Linked DNA regions of Homo sapiens: region 2 is linked to region 1. The links are contacts of gene promoters, found by promoter capture Hi-C in human tissues and cell types (Jung and others, 2019). All regions are on one chromosome and are shown on one strand. The core of a region is centred on a gene start or on the middle of the fragment in contact, and the rest is flanking DNA. Distances in the headings are between cores, read along the strand shown. Region 1 holds the start of GPR148 (G protein-coupled receptor 148). Region 2 overlaps ARHGEF4 (Rho guanine nucleotide exchange factor 4).

Region 1 (7,592 bases), core at 1,950-4,449:
AGTGCCCACTGCCCACCCTCTGACTCCCCGAGCCTTGACCTGACACCACGGTGAGTAACTCCTGTCCTGCTGCCACCATTGGGGGCCATAGCAACAGGGTCTGCATGTCTCAGGAAAGAGAGCTTTTTTTTTTTTTTTTTTTTTTTTTTTATGGAGTTTTGCTCTTCTTGCCCAGACTGGAGTGCAATGGTGTGATCTTGGCTCACTGCAACCTTCGCCTCCTGGGTTCAAGAGATTCTCCTGCCTCAGCCTCCTGAGTAGCTGGGATTACAGGCATGTGCCACCACGCCCAGCTAATTTTTGTATTTTTAGTAGAGACAGGGTTTCTCCATGTTGATCAGGCTGGTTTCAAACTCCTGACCTCAGGTGATCTGCCTGTCTCGGCCTCCCAAAGTGCAAAGTGCTGGGATTACAGGCGTGAGCCACCGCTCCCCGCCAAAAGATGGCTTCTTACTAACACTGAACTCTCTCAAAAGGTGACCTTAGGCAGGGCACTTAACCTCCCTGGGCTTCAGTTTCCCACAGAGCAGCATGTCATTTCTGTGAGTGTGCTCAGTGCCTGCACAGAAGGTGCTCCACGATGAGGCTGTGGGTGGTCACTGTTACCTCATCTCAGCCGGAGGACCCAGGAGCATGTCCATTCTGTGGTTTAAACATGTTTGCATTAGGCACGCCTACAGCCTCAGTTTACCTCCACCTTCCTAGAGGGCAGGGACACTCCAGCATCCCCAGGCTCTTGAAGGGCCACGGATGGCTGAGATTCAACTTCCAAAGTTATGTTCAGATTCACTAGCCTGTGCTGCACACCCACCCCGCGTCTGCACCCAAGGCCAGCAGGCCCGTCCTGACCCATAATGATTACAGGAACGGGGCAAAGGAGTTAAAGGCTGCAGGGTCCTAACCAGGGAGGCCAGCTCTGTGACCCCAGAGCTGGCACTGGGTGACCCCACATCTGGGGTTGATTACAGTGTAGAAACTAAGGGTGGTTCTGAGAAAGCCCATCTTCCCTTTCGGAGAAACCGCGATGCCATAGGGCGGACCCCGCCTCCCTGTCCCCGCGCCCTGGGCTGCACTCCCTAGGGCCCCGGACTGCATTTTCCCAGGAGGGCAGCCTGGATAGGGAACCTCGGCAAGTGAGACCAAACTGATGTTCCCTTAGGGGCAGCACCCGCTCGGTGCTCTGAGATTGTTGTATGGGCTATTTAATTCCTAAGATGATTCTCAGCAGGAGGCAGGCTCTGTATCATCCCAGCGGCTTTTTCACCTTGGGAGTTTCGCGCTTTCCGATTCCATGAAGTTGCTGCTTGTCACCCCGTCACCGGCTATAAGGATTTAGCTCACAACCACATTTTTACTGAGGGATTGTCATTTAACGAGTTTCCCTCTCCCAGGGAATCTGCATTCTAAGACCCCAAAGGCCGGCGAGGGTCGTTGTGCTGGGCTGGACAGCAGAGAGAGGCTCGGCCTTGGCCCTCAGCCCTGCAGCACACAGGGCACCCGCGCAGAGAGCGTGGCCTGCGAATGGCTCTGCTGCCTCTCCCGGCCTGGGGCCGATTAGACCGGTCAGAGCATCTGTAAAGTACAAGGGGCCCCTAGGGAGTGCAGGCCAGGGCAGCTGGGGCAGGGAGGCGGGGTCCGCCCCATGGCATCGCGGTTTCTCTGGAAGGGGTGATGGGCTTTCTCAGAACCACCTTTAGTTTCTGTACCGTAATCGGCCAAAAAGGCGCAGGCGCTGCTGCTCCTGGCAGCTGCGTAACAGGCTCTCAGAGGAGGACGCGGTTCCGGGCTGCGGCGGGCGTGGTCCGGGGCTGTTCTGGGCGTGGTCTTTGGCTGTGATGGGCGTGGCCTTGGGCTATGGAGGGCGTGGTCCCAGGGCTGCGATGATGGTGGTCCGGGGCTGTGGTGGGCGTGGCCCCGGGCTGCGGCGGGCGTGGTCCCCGGGCTGCGGCGGACGTGGTCAGGGGCGGTTCTGGGCGTGGTCCCTGGGCTGCGGTGGACGTGGTCTCGGGCTGTGACGAGCATGGTCCCTGGGCAGCAGTGGACGTGGTCTCACACCCAGAGTCTGAAATTTCTGCCTCTTCCTGGCCCTAAAAATATCCTGCCTGTTCCCACGCGGCTCCTGCCTTCTGGAGCAGTCTGCCAGGCCGGCGGTGGGTGTTGGGCAGGGGTCTCAGGCTGCCAGCAGCCAAGTGCAGCCCGTTCTGCAGTGATGACAGGGATCTGTGGGCAGAGGGGACCGAGCCTCGGAGGATGCTGTAGGTGGGAGAGCTAACATTGACTCAGCATTTACTTCAGGCTATGCACTGTGCTGAGTCCCTTACCTCTGGGCTTCCGCAACGTTTCCCTGAGGTCAGTGTGGTTGGCATTCGTGTTTCACAGATAAGGAAACTGGAACAAAGCTTTTCAAGGCCACGCAGCCAACACCTCGAGAGAGCGGGAGAGCTTGTTCACTTGAACTGGATCCCCAAACACCAACAGCCACCCTGGCCACTGGCTCTGACTGAGCTCACCCCACCCCCGACAAGCCAGGTGCCTGGGGAACCTGCCTTCCATTCCTCCCCACTAGCTCCTATGAGGTCTCTGCCTGCCAGGCCTCCTCCTCCCCAGAGGAAGGGACGTTTCTACCACACAGCGACCCCACAAGTCAGCTGAGATTTTGGGGGCACCGAATACTCACATGGAGCCCTGAGTGGAAGGGGTGTAGGAGTCACACTCACACGCATGCACAGGGTCACCCTGAGCTGGAGACCATACCCAAGGCTCTGTGAGGAAATGTGAGTGCGCCCAGGCCCCTCCAGCCTGGTCCAATTTGCTGAGCCTCTAGCTCGACAGAGGTCAGACCAGGTCTACAGCCCAGCGATCCTAGTTCCAGACAGCTGCTCCTTCCTTTCTAGGAGGGCAGCCCGGAATATAATCCAGTGTGGTGAGAATCCATTGCACACTCCCTGTGAGCCAAGCAGACAGGTTTGGGGGCCACTGAGATAGGGGACACTTCTGGAGGGGTCAGTGACTGCAAAATGGTGGCAGTGGGATGATCTGTTATGTCTACCCACGCACATGCAGCTGCACAGTTGCAGAGATGTGAATGCAGGAAGCCAGGTGTGAGTCTGAATTCACATTGGTTTTTTTATCTTTATTAAGCAGTCATTCCTAAGGCCTGCCCGAGCCTGGCATCTCTACAGAGGAGTGGTGCCATCAGGACCCCTGTGGGGCAGATCAACACTCAAGGCAGGTGCAGAATCAACAACCTGTGACAAAGCCAGCCATCCCTGCCAGGAAGCATGGGGGATGAGCTGGCACCTTGCCCTGTGGGCACTACAGCTTGGCCGGCCCTGATCCAGCTCATCAGCAAGACACCCTGCATGCCCCAAGCAGCCAGCAACACTTCCTTGGGCCTGGGGGACCTCAGGGTGCCCAGCTCCATGCTGTACTGGCTTTTCCTTCCCTCAAGCCTGCTGGCTGCAGCCACACTGGCTGTCAGCCCCCTGCTGCTGGTGACCATCCTGCGGAACCAACGGCTGCGACAGGAGCCCCACTACCTGCTCCCGGCTAACATCCTGCTCTCAGACCTGGCCTACATTCTCCTCCACATGCTCATCTCCTCCAGCAGCCTGGGTGGCTGGGAGCTGGGCCGCATGGCCTGTGGCATTCTCACTGATGCTGTCTTCGCCGCCTGCACCAGCACCATCCTGTCCTTCACCGCCATTGTGCTGCACACCTACCTGGCAGTCATCCATCCACTGCGCTACCTCTCCTTCATGTCCCATGGGGCTGCCTGGAAGGCAGTGGCCCTCATCTGGCTGGTGGCCTGCTGCTTCCCCACATTCCTTATTTGGCTCAGCAAGTGGCAGGATGCCCAGCTGGAGGAGCAAGGAGCTTCATACATCCTACCACCAAGCATGGGCACCCAGCCGGGATGTGGCCTCCTGGTCATTGTTACCTACACCTCCATTCTGTGCGTTCTGTTCCTCTGCACAGCTCTCATTGCCAACTGTTTCTGGAGGATCTATGCAGAGGCCAAGACTTCAGGCATCTGGGGGCAGGGCTATTCCCGGGCCAGGGGCACCCTGCTGATCCACTCAGTGCTGATCACATTGTACGTGAGCACAGGGGTGGTGTTCTCCCTGGACATGGTGCTGACCAGGTACCACCACATTGACTCTGGGACTCACACATGGCTCCTGGCAGCTAACAGTGAGGTACTCATGATGCTTCCCCGTGCCATGCTCACATACCTGTACCTGCTCCGCTACCGGCAGCTGTTGGGCATGGTCCGGGGCCACCTCCCATCCAGGAGGCACCAGGCCATCTTTACCATTTCCTAGAGTTCTTGAGTCCACAGTCTGGCAAGCTGAGGTTAAAAATCATATGTTGAATGCAGCAGTGTCCACTTATGACTAACTTCTTAGAACAGCACAATATAATAGTGGAATTGGGCCTTTCAGAAGACCTCAACTGATGATTTTCACCATTTTGACAGTTTTTAAGTAGAGAAAGCTCTCTTATGACACTGAAATCCTACTTGGAAACGGAAGCAAGTAAAGGCAATCAAGCAGGGCTCTGGTCTAAGTCAAGCCTTGATCTGCGTCCCTCCAATGGCTTGCTGCACACCCTCCCTGGCCACTGTGGATGCATCCTTGCTGACCAACACACAGAAGCCAAAATGTTGCTGACAGTGAGAACCACAGAGGTAAGCAAGCAGAGCTGCTGAGTCCTGGGACCATGAGCTCTATCTGAGCAGCCGCTCAGGATGTGGGAGGGAGGAAAGGAAGCCAACGATCCACAGCAGTGGAGAGTGTCATGGAGATACCACTATAAAGCTGGAGTGTGCAAGGGTTACACTCTCACAATAAAGGTAAATGATAACCTAACCTTACAGAAGGGGTCAGCAAGGGAGTTTGCCTGCCTTGACTTTCGTGCTGTGTAGAAGAAGAAAATTCCTCGAGAATTCTTAAGTAGAAGCCACTCTTCAGACAGTTTTAGAGCTAGGCTTCAAATTATGTTAGTGGTAAAAAGACCTCAGTCTGTGGTTGGTGTGGTTCTCCTGGACGATCTGAGCTTCACCTTAGGCTGCAGAGAATTTCCAGAGTCAAAGAACCTCAAATAATGGAGTTGCACATGGTCAAATCTCACAAAACCACATAGGGAGATAAGGCACCATGAATGAGAGCAAGAAGAAACAAGAAGACAGCAGCGTCATACCACAGCTCCTTGAATTATCAACACTGGGTTAATATAAAAATGTTCAAGATGTTTTAAGACATTAATAATGACATGAAAATATGAGCAGGGATAATACTTTTTTTTAAATAACCAAGAAAATTTGGAAAATATTTAAATAGAACTTCTTGAAACAAAAATATTAGAATTATGAGTTGAATTTAATATGGATTAAAGAGCATGTTAGACACAACTGGAAACAGACTCTGCAAATTGTGAGAGAGGTCCAGATAAATTACCTAAAATGCAGCCCAGAGGGACAAAGAGACAACCATATAAAAGAGAGATTAAGAGACATTGAGGTTGGGATGGAAAAGACTAACATACATTTAATTTGGGAACACAATACAGAAAATGTAGGAGGGGAAATATTTGAAGCGATAACAGCTGAGGATTTTTTCAGATTTGTTTAAAGATATCAAACTTCAGATCCGAGAAATCTAACCAATCATAAATAAGATAAATGACCAATAACCCACGTTGAAGCACATGATGCGAAACTGCAAACAGCTAAATACAAAGACAAGATATTTAAAGCAGGCAGAGATAAAAGACAAAAGAACATCAATTAAACTCACCTTGACTTCTCAAACAATGGAAGAGACCAGCCTGACCAACATGGTGAAACCCCGTCTCTACTAAAAATACAAAAAAAATTAGCCGGGCTTGGTGGCGGGCGCCTGTAGTCCCAGCTACTCCAGAGGCTGAGGCAGGAGAATGGCGTGAACCCGGGAGACGGAGCTTTCAGTGAGCCGCGATCACGCCACTGCACTCCAGCCTGGGCGACAGAGCAAGACTCCGTCTCAAAAAAAAAAAAAAAATAATAATTAGCCAGGCCTGGTGGCATGTGCTGTCAGCTACTTAGGAGGCTGAGGCAGGAGAATCGCTTGAACCCGGGAGGCGGAGGTTGCAGTGAGCCGAGATCACACCACTGCACTCCAGCCTGGGCGACAGAGCGAGACCCCATCTCAAAAAACAAACAAACAAACAAAAAACATGGAAGCCTTGGCAACTGGAATAATGTTGCCAATGTGCTGAGAAAATAACTGTCTTCCTAGAATTTTATATACAGAAAAACCTTTCCAGACCTTGATAGAACACAAAAGCTGAAAGACAGTATTCCTAGCAATACACATTAAGAAAACTTCAAGGGATGTATTTGTTGCAGAAGAAAAATTATTCCAGGTGGAAGGTTTGAGATGTATGAAGAAATAGAAAAGTCACTGGAGACTATGCACATAAATAGGAATAGTTATTGTCTAGTTGCCTACATAAAAGCAATAAAAATGTCTAATTTCGGCCCGGCATGGTGGCTCAATGCCTGTGATCCCAGCACTTTGGGAGGCCGGGGCGGGGCCCATCACCTGAGGTCGGGAGCTCAAGACCAGCCTGACCAACATGGAGAAACCCCGTTTCTACTAAAAATACAAAATTTTGTATTGGGATGGTGGCGCATGCCTGTAATCCCAGCTACTCGGGAAGCTGAGGCAGGAGACTCACTTGAACCCCGGAGGCGGAGGTTGCGGTGAGCCAAGGTTGTGCCATTGCACTCCAGCCTGGGCAACAGGAGTGAAACTCTGTCTCCAAAAAAAAAGTCTAATTTAACGGTTTAGAAAAAATGGAAAAAAAGAATTACATAACAGTGGTATATGTGTCAGAAAGGTGTAATTGTACTTAAAGCATTCTAAAGTCTAGCAGTCTTCAGGAGGAAGGTAGAGATATTAATCTAAGACTTTGTTAGGCATGCAAGTTGAAATGAGGTAACCACTAACAGACTAGACAAAACGAGGATCACTCTCTAAATAATCTAAGGAACAAATGAAATGAGTAAGAGAAAAGATCACTCAGCCAAAAGAAGGCAAGAAAAAATATATAGAAAAGTCAGGACAAATAGAAAGCATAAAGTAATATGATAGAATCCAAACAACTAATTCAAATCTACTAAAACAATAAATTTAAATGACTAAAATTTGATGGTGGGGAAACAATATTGTCCATTTACTTTTAAATTGGATATATGTTATTTATAAGAGATTATGCTAAACAAACAACAGAGAATGGGTGGAAGTAAAGCAATAGTTGGGAGTATAGAAAAAGACAGAAAGCCTTTCCTGGATCCTCCAATCAAAACTTAACTCAGGCTGGGTGCAGAGGCTCAAGCCTGCAATCCCAGCACTTTAGGAGGCAGAGGCGAGAGGATTACCTGAGGTTGGGAGTTCGAGACCAGACTGGCCAACATGGTGAAATCCCGTCTCTTCTAAAAATACAAAAATTAGCCAGGCATGGTAGAGGGCACCTATAATCCCAGCTACTCAGGAGGCTGAGGCAGAATTGCTTGAACCCGGAAGGTGGAGGTTGCAGTGAGCTGAGAT
Region 2 (7,592 bases), core at 1,331-3,830, 280 kb after region 1:
TCTACTGGCTGCAGGGCTCTGTTCTGGATGCTTGGAGTACAGTGGTAAACAAGGTGCACGCAATGCCCTGTCTTCATGGAGCTTGCCGACTTTAAAATGTTTAAAAATTTAAAAGCTTTAATGCTCAAAATAATTTTTGAAAAGATTAATATGTAGCTAATCTCTTTACTCCTGGAATTAGACACTTAAAAAGCTGTGAGGGGCCGGGCGCGGTGGCTCATGCCTGTAATCCCAGCACTTTGGGAGGCCGAGGCAGGCAGATCACGAGGTCAGGAGATCGAGACCATCCTGGCTAACACGGTGAAACCCCATCTACTAAAAATACAAAAAAATTAGCTGGGCGTAGTGGCTCACGCCTGTAATTCCAGCACTTTGGGAGGCCGAGGCGGGCGGATCACGAGGTCAGGAGATCGAGACCGTCCTGGCTAACACAGTGAAACCCCATCTCTACTAAAAATACAAAAAATTAGCTGGGCGTGTTGGCAGGCACCTGTAGTCCTAGCTACTTCAGAGGCTGAAGCAGGAGAATGTCGTGAACCCGGGAGGCGGAGCTTGCAGTGAGCCGAGATCGCACCACTGCACTCCAGCCTGGGCGACAGAGCGAGACTCCGTCTCAAAAAAAAAAAAAAAAAAAAAAAAAAAAAAAAGGGTTGTGGGGGCTGGGGGTGAAGGAGAGCTCACTGCTCTTTGTAAAATCAGCCTCCGCTGCTGGAACGGACAGTCTGAATGAACTGTTGGTCGGCTTCCTATATTAGTTTTTCAACATTGTTGGTTTACACTTCTGAGTTCATAGAATGAGCACCCTAGCCCTATGGTTTTGTAAGTAGTCACCTAAAGGGAACTGTTTTAATGAATAAACAGGGATGGCTTTTAATTACTACATTTGCTGAATAGATATTTTTGCACCCCAACTTTGTGCAAGACACTAGGATAGGGACTGTTCGGACAAGAGGGCAACAAGCAAAGATCCCTGCTCTGGGAGGTCCCGCAGTGCCTCTGGTATGAACAGCGTTAGTAACAGTGACCTTGACGATGGGGCATTCGCTGTTCTACCTCAGGCATCAACTCTCTAAAGCACTGAGCCATGACGAGGCCAGGGGAATGGAGGACCATCCCGCACGCACTCTGTACCCAGAGGTCCAGGTCATGCCGTAAGACACACCCCCTCTGCACCTCAGTTCCTGATTTATAAAACAATGGCCATTCCTGTTCCACACTGTTTCTGTATGAAGTGAAATGATCTACATGAATGCTCCTGGCACATGATGACCACTCAGTGGATTCCAGTTTCTTCCTTCTTGATCGTGACACGCATCTCTCGTCATTTCTGCAGTATTCCCTGAAGCTTCTTTAAGCAGAGTTCTGGCCAAGGCAGAGACCCTTAGTAAGCACCAGTTGATGGGAAGGCACAATTCACTGGGTCCCTAGATGCACCAGGCTGAGTTGCCTGTGGACAGGTGGGTGAAAATCTGGAAGCTTCTCTGTCCATACTTGCCTGTCAATGAGGAAGAAGATGGCCCCGCAGTACGTGAGGTCAGCCTGAGTGACACTCCTGTTAAGATAGGGATAATCCTTTCTGATCTCTCATTTAGTCTGCCTTGCTTTGGATAGTATGTGATGGCAGTTGCTAGACCGAGCCTGAAATGCAGAAATGCCAGGGCAAAGATGACATCTGACAACATAGCCTAGATATGTCAGTCAGCTAATGACTTCAGATCAGTCTTCTGGGAAGTAGGCTTTTCTGAAATCGATGGGCTTAATTAGAAAGAACTTAACTAGGGTAACTGGGTAATAACGACCTGGAAATATTTATACAGGGACCCTTCACAAGTTTTCACCGAAACAGGACTTTTAAAAAAATCCTAAGCCTTCAGCAGCCAAAGGAGCATCTTTGGTTGGGAGAGATGGGGATAGGAGGATCTTCACTCCCTACATAGAGCCCCTGCACACCCTGGGGACACCAGACCCACCTCTGGGAAAGATAAGAAAGGGAGGAAGCTGGGCCAGTGTGGTGCAGGCCTTCCATATGCCTATGGAATCAAGGAATCTCTGTTAGTTGGTGTGTTTTGTTTTGTTTTGGGGTTTTTTTGAGACGGAGTCTCACTCTGTCGCTCGGGCTGGAGTGCAATGGCACGATCTCGACTCACTGCAAGCTCCACCTCCAGGGTTCATGCCATTCTCCTGCCTCAGCTTCCCGAGTAGCTGGGACTACAGGCCCCCGCCACCATGCTTGTCTAATTTTTTGTATTTTTAGTAGAGACGGGGTTTAACCGTGTTAGCCAGGATGGTCTCAATCACCTGACTTCATGATCCCCCTGCCTTGGCCTCCCAAAGTGCTGGGATTACAGGCGTGAGCCACCGCACCCAGCCCTCTCTGTTTTTTAAACCACATTCGGAAGTATTTCACTCCCTAATTGTCTTTTCCTCAAAGTAAGGAGACAGCCACTGGGAGGTGAATGGGTGGCCAAGCCCACTTGGTGGCAGAGTGCGGCCCTCCTTGTCACACAGCCCGGCCTCGATGGTCCTTCCAGGCCTGACCCGGCCGTGAGCGCCTGCCATCCTCAGCCCTCTTTCTAGGGTGTGGTGTCTCTGTCCCACCCCGGCCTCACAGAACTCAGGTCCAGATCTCTGTGAATGATGGAGAGGATGAAGAATAGTCTGCCCTGGGGACACAACACACTTTGGCTGAACCCTTCTGGCAACCACATCTCTGCTGTTTTATTTACTCCAGTGTCTGGTGTGGGCAAATAGCTTGCAGGTGGCTTTGTGGCTGCCCCATGGCAGGTACAGGAGCAACCCCATTCCCTCCTCCAAAGTTTGGTTTGGATGTGGAGAAGGATAACACCACACACACACCAGGAGGGTGGGGAAAGCTTGTGGTTGGTGCCCTGGGGCTTTCTGTGAGAGCAGGGCAGACTGCAGCCCAGCTGGAACAGCTGCAGCAAAGGGGGCCCTGGGTGGCTGAGTATGGCTGAGGGCTGTATGGTGGTGAGGAGGGAGCCAGGGTGAGAGTCCTGCCACCCCTCGCCTGGGGTTTGCATTGATTTTGCAGTTATGGGGCAAGAGAGGAAGAGGATGGGGCTGGAAGCCATCCGCAGTCAGCAGTGGGCTGATATCTGTCACGCTCTGGGGGCAGAGCTGACTTGACTGTGTCCTGTGAGGGACACAGCAGCAGCCTGAAGAGGGCTCGGCCTCATTCCTCACATCCAGGTAGAAATCGGGAAGTGCAGCCAGGGTAAGCCCTCCCCGGTGAGCTACCGATGACATGGGGTGTCCCACACAGGGCTGCCCTCCAGCAGCAGGGCCCTCCCACAACAGCCACTCCCTGCCGTCCTCAGGCTCCCATGGGGCTCCAAGTCCCAGCTTTCTCCTGACATGGGAGACTGCCCAGTCCTGTTCTGTGTTGAAGTGCGCCTCTGGGGGTCATTTACTTGCATCTGAGATCTGTGAGTGAGATTTCTATATGTTAAGAAAAGCTGGGACCCTGGAGATGCTTCCCAGGCTGCCCTAGTCTTCCCAGTCCCAGGGGCTTGGCCACGTACCCCGCAGCGTGCAGAAGATGCAGGGGAGCTGGCCTGTGTCCTCAGGTGGGAGGGGAGGGGCGGGAGTGCCCAGCGCCCCAGGGGCCAGGCTGTGTGGGCACTGGGGGGAGATGCGCCGTGGACCACAGGGACCCGTGGTGCTGGGCAGCTTCCCGGCAAAAGGTCTGGAAGGTGTGTCTGTAGTAGACAGAATTCTCAGGATGCTCCCAAAACCTCTGCCCACTGGTTAGCCAGACACAAATCTAGGAACTTCCTGCAAGGGACTTTGCAGATAGGACTGAGGTTGCTAATGAGCTGACCTTAACATAGGGAGATAGTTCTGGATTATCTGGGTAGGTCCAGCATAATCATATGAGCCCTTAAAAGCAGCCGAAGAAGCCAGGAGAGGAGCTAAGAGAGATTGAAAGAGAAGGAACTCAACCCACCATTGTGGGGAGGAGACCTGTTCCCCGCCATTGGTCATCCTTGGAAGATGGTAATAGCCCCTGGGCATCACAAGGCAATTCAGCCACCCAGGGACCTCAGTCCGACAGCACTCTGGAACTACATCTGCCTGTAATCTGAATGAGACTGCGAGTTGATTCAGCCGCAGAGCCTCCAGAAAGGGACACAGCCGCGATGACACCTTAATTTAGGCTCTCTGTGACTCCAAGCAGAGAACCCACTGAGCCACACTGTGCCCAGCCCTTTGACCTACAGAAACAGATAACAAATGTATGTGCTGTTAAGCCTCTAAATGCAGGGTAATTTGTTTCAGCAGCAATAGGAAAATAATACATGCATCCCTGCCCGTGGGAGTCACATGGCCCAGGGCCTTAGCAGCGGCCCAGGAGCTGGCTGGCTGTCAGTCACTGAGAAGATGATGAGGGACTGTCAGCCATTAGGGAATGCCATCCAGGAGCCGTTTGTCTACTATTCACTAGTTAGGGAATGGGGAGCTAATTTGCATTTTAATGCTAGATTCTCACCATTTTCCCAAACAGGAAATCCTTCCAGAGTAGAATCTTAGCACTTACCTAGGCATCTTTTATGCTTTTGGGGTTCTGTGCCCTATCCCTCTGGTCTTGCCTGGACTGGGGAGTGGGACTGTTAAGCAAAGAGCAGATTAGGTGAGGCCACCCACCAAAGTACCAACACCTAGGTGCGGGGAGTTGGTCTGAAGAGAGGCTGAAAGACCAAGTCCAAGTCATGAAGGGAAGCAAAAGGCCAAGTCATTGGCTAAGTCCGAAGGATAAAATGGGGCCAAAAGTAGGCCAGGTGGTCCTGCTGAACACAGTTGGGTACTTGTAAGGGATTGGGAGGTGGACTGTAGGTAAAATTGGTCACCCTGTGGCTTAAGATTGAGGCAAGGCTGTCACAATGACATACATCTTCCACCAAAATACAAGGCATAGGGTGTAGGAAATTACAGTGAAATTGCAGAAGAAATTCTAATTGAAGGGATCCAGCAAAGAGTAAAGGCGTTTGTCATGGAGACTGCTGTGACATTAATTTATGGACCTACTATGTTCTCAGTCCTCTATGTGGAAGATGTCTTCACTCTAGATGGTGGGCACCATTATGATCCCTGACTGTCCCCAGCCTCTGTGTCTATTCCAAGGAGCCTCCAGCTTCTCTATCCTTGTGACTGGAGTCAGCCAGTGCTTAAGGGGAAAGTGGCCCAAATGCTGAATTTATGTCCCTGTCCTCTCCTCTCCTCCATCATAGCCCTGCAGTTTCCTCTTTCTTTAATATCTTTCTGGTACCTTCAAATAGATAGTTATTACTTTTTCACTCAAGTTTTTAAGCTCTCCTTACTTTTTATAGGCTAGGGTATTTTCCTCTTTTTTATTCATTCTTCACAGATATTATTTTAAAATATAAACGTGTTTGTTGCTTTTTCTGATTGTGAAGCTAATATATTCATCTTGGCAAATCCAACATAACAGAAAATAATTAGAGTTAAATTCACCTGAAATCCTACCATCCAAAAATAGATACTGTTAACTATTTCGTATGCAACCTTTTGTATATCTATGCCTTTTCATTGTTTGTCTTTTTATTATTTTTTCATAAATAAGATCACACTCTATATACTGGTTTGTAAGCTACTTTTTAATTTAATAATATGCTTTTAGTGACTTTAGTTTTGATAAATATAAAGCTAAATTATTCTTTTCTTTTCTTTTTTTTTTTTTTTTTTTTTTTTTTTTGGAGACAGAGTCTCGCCCTATCCCCCGGGCTGGAGTGCAATGGCACGATCTCAGCTCACTGCAACCTCCGCTTCCCAGGTTCAAGTGATTCTCATTGCCTCAGCCTCCCAAGTAGCTGTGATTACAGGCACCCACCACCCCGCCCAGCTAATTTTTGTATTTTTAGTAGAGACAGGGTTTCGCCATGTTGGCCAGGCTAGTCTCGAACTCCTGACCTCAGGTAATCCACCAGCCTCAGGCTCCCAAAGTGTCAAGATTACACGCATGAGCCACCACACCTGGCCCCTAAATTATTCTTTTGAATTGGCTACATGGTGTTTCATTATATAAATGTACCTTAATTTATTTTAGTAGTCCCCTAATAATGTTCAATTTGTTTGTCTGTAATATTTTTCTATTAGAATCAATGCTGGAATCAATATACTTGTAAATACATACTTGTGTGCTTTTCTGAGTACTTGTTTTCTTAGGATAAAACCCTAAAAATAGAACAATTGGATCAACATATTTGTTCTTTGTAAAACTTTTCTTGAAGTATAATACACATGCATAAAAGTGCACCAATAATAAATGTATGTTTTGATGAATTTTCACAAAGTAGATATTCTCATGCAACCAACATCCAGATCAAGAAATAGAACATTACCATCACAACAGTCTCTTTCTTTTAAATGGAGTATTTAGTCCATTAACTTTTAATGTGATTATTGATATAGTTGGGCTTACATTGGTCATTTTCCTCTTTTTTTGTCACATGTTCTTTGTGTTACTCCTTTTCTCCTTTTCTGTTTTGTTTTGGATTAATTGGATCTTTTTTAAAAAAATCCTATCTTTATTATTGGCTTATCACTATTCCTTTATGTTATTTTATAATGGTTGCTCTGAAGATTATTTTATATATACATGTGTATATATATATCTTTTCATAGTCTACTAAAAGTAATATTTACCACTTTATATAAAATGTAAGAATCTTGCATATGTATAATTTCATTTATCCCTTTCCTGTTTTATGGATAGAGCTGTCATTTATATGCTCATCTACATGTACTATAAGCCCCACAATATAATGTTATGATTTTTGCTTTAAATTGCTATGTATTTTTAAAGAAATTAATTTTAAAATAGTGTGTTGTACATACCCACAGTTTAACACTTCTGGTGCTTATCATTTTATCTTGAAGATCAGAATTTCCATTTGTCATCATTCTCACTTTTGCCTGAGCAACTTCACTTAATGTTTCTTGTAGTAATCATTTGCTGGTCAATGATTCTCTTAGCTTTCATTTTTCTTTTTTTGGACAGCAGACATTGTGGTGGTGTCCTGTGGGTCACCACCAGGGACACGCACCTCCTTCTTTCATTTTTCTGAAGATGTATTTATTTCACTTTTATTATTGCAAAATATTTTTGTTGTTGTAGAATTCTGAGTTGACAGTTTTTTTCTTTCAGCAATTCAAAGATGTTGTTACAGTATCTCTGTCTTTCATTACAGTCAACTGTCATTCAACAAAGGTCTGTCTTGTTATGTTTCTCTGTATTCTGCTTGGGATTCAGTGATCTCCTTGAATCTGTACATTTATTCTTTCACCAGATTTGTGAAACTGTTGGTCATTATGTCTTCAGAATTGTTTCTGCTTCATTCACTCTCTCCTCATGTATGTTAGACCATAGTATTTTCCCAAGTCACTAAGTTGCTGTTCATTATTTTCCAACATTTTTTTCTCTTTTTCAAATTGGATCATTTCTATTCGTCTGTCTTCAAGCTGCTATTTCTTTCAGTATTTCCAATCTTCAGTTCAGCCTATTCAGTAAATATTTTTATTTTGATACTGTATTCTCCAGTTCTGGAATTTCT

The links. Contacts are between HindIII fragments. The study calls those that stand out against the background at their distance.
Region 2: a contact is called between a fragment that was not itself captured here and the fragment with the promoter of GPR148 in region 1, in 3 of the 25 tissues and cell types used here (H1 embryonic stem cells, bladder and dorsolateral prefrontal cortex).

The regions. Positions count from the first base shown.
Region 1 is chr2:130,725,871-130,733,462 of GRCh38, forward strand. It overlaps GPR148 (G protein-coupled receptor 148), which reads left to right and starts at 3,200. Exons shown (of 1, transcript NM_207364.2): 1 at 3,200-4,466. The coding sequence starts at 3,282. The coding sequence ends at 4,325. RefSeq lists enhancers at 922-1,449, 1,771-2,350, 2,351-2,929 and a silencer at 1,833-2,002. The HindIII fragment of the contact is 13,856 bases long and covers 1-7,592 here.
Region 2 is chr2:131,002,095-131,009,686 of GRCh38, forward strand. All of the region lies in intron 4 of ARHGEF4 (Rho guanine nucleotide exchange factor 4), which reads left to right. Among named protein-coding and RNA genes, the nearest start is that of SMIM39, 29 kb to the right of the region's middle. The HindIII fragment of the contact is 6,362 bases long and covers 1-5,761 here.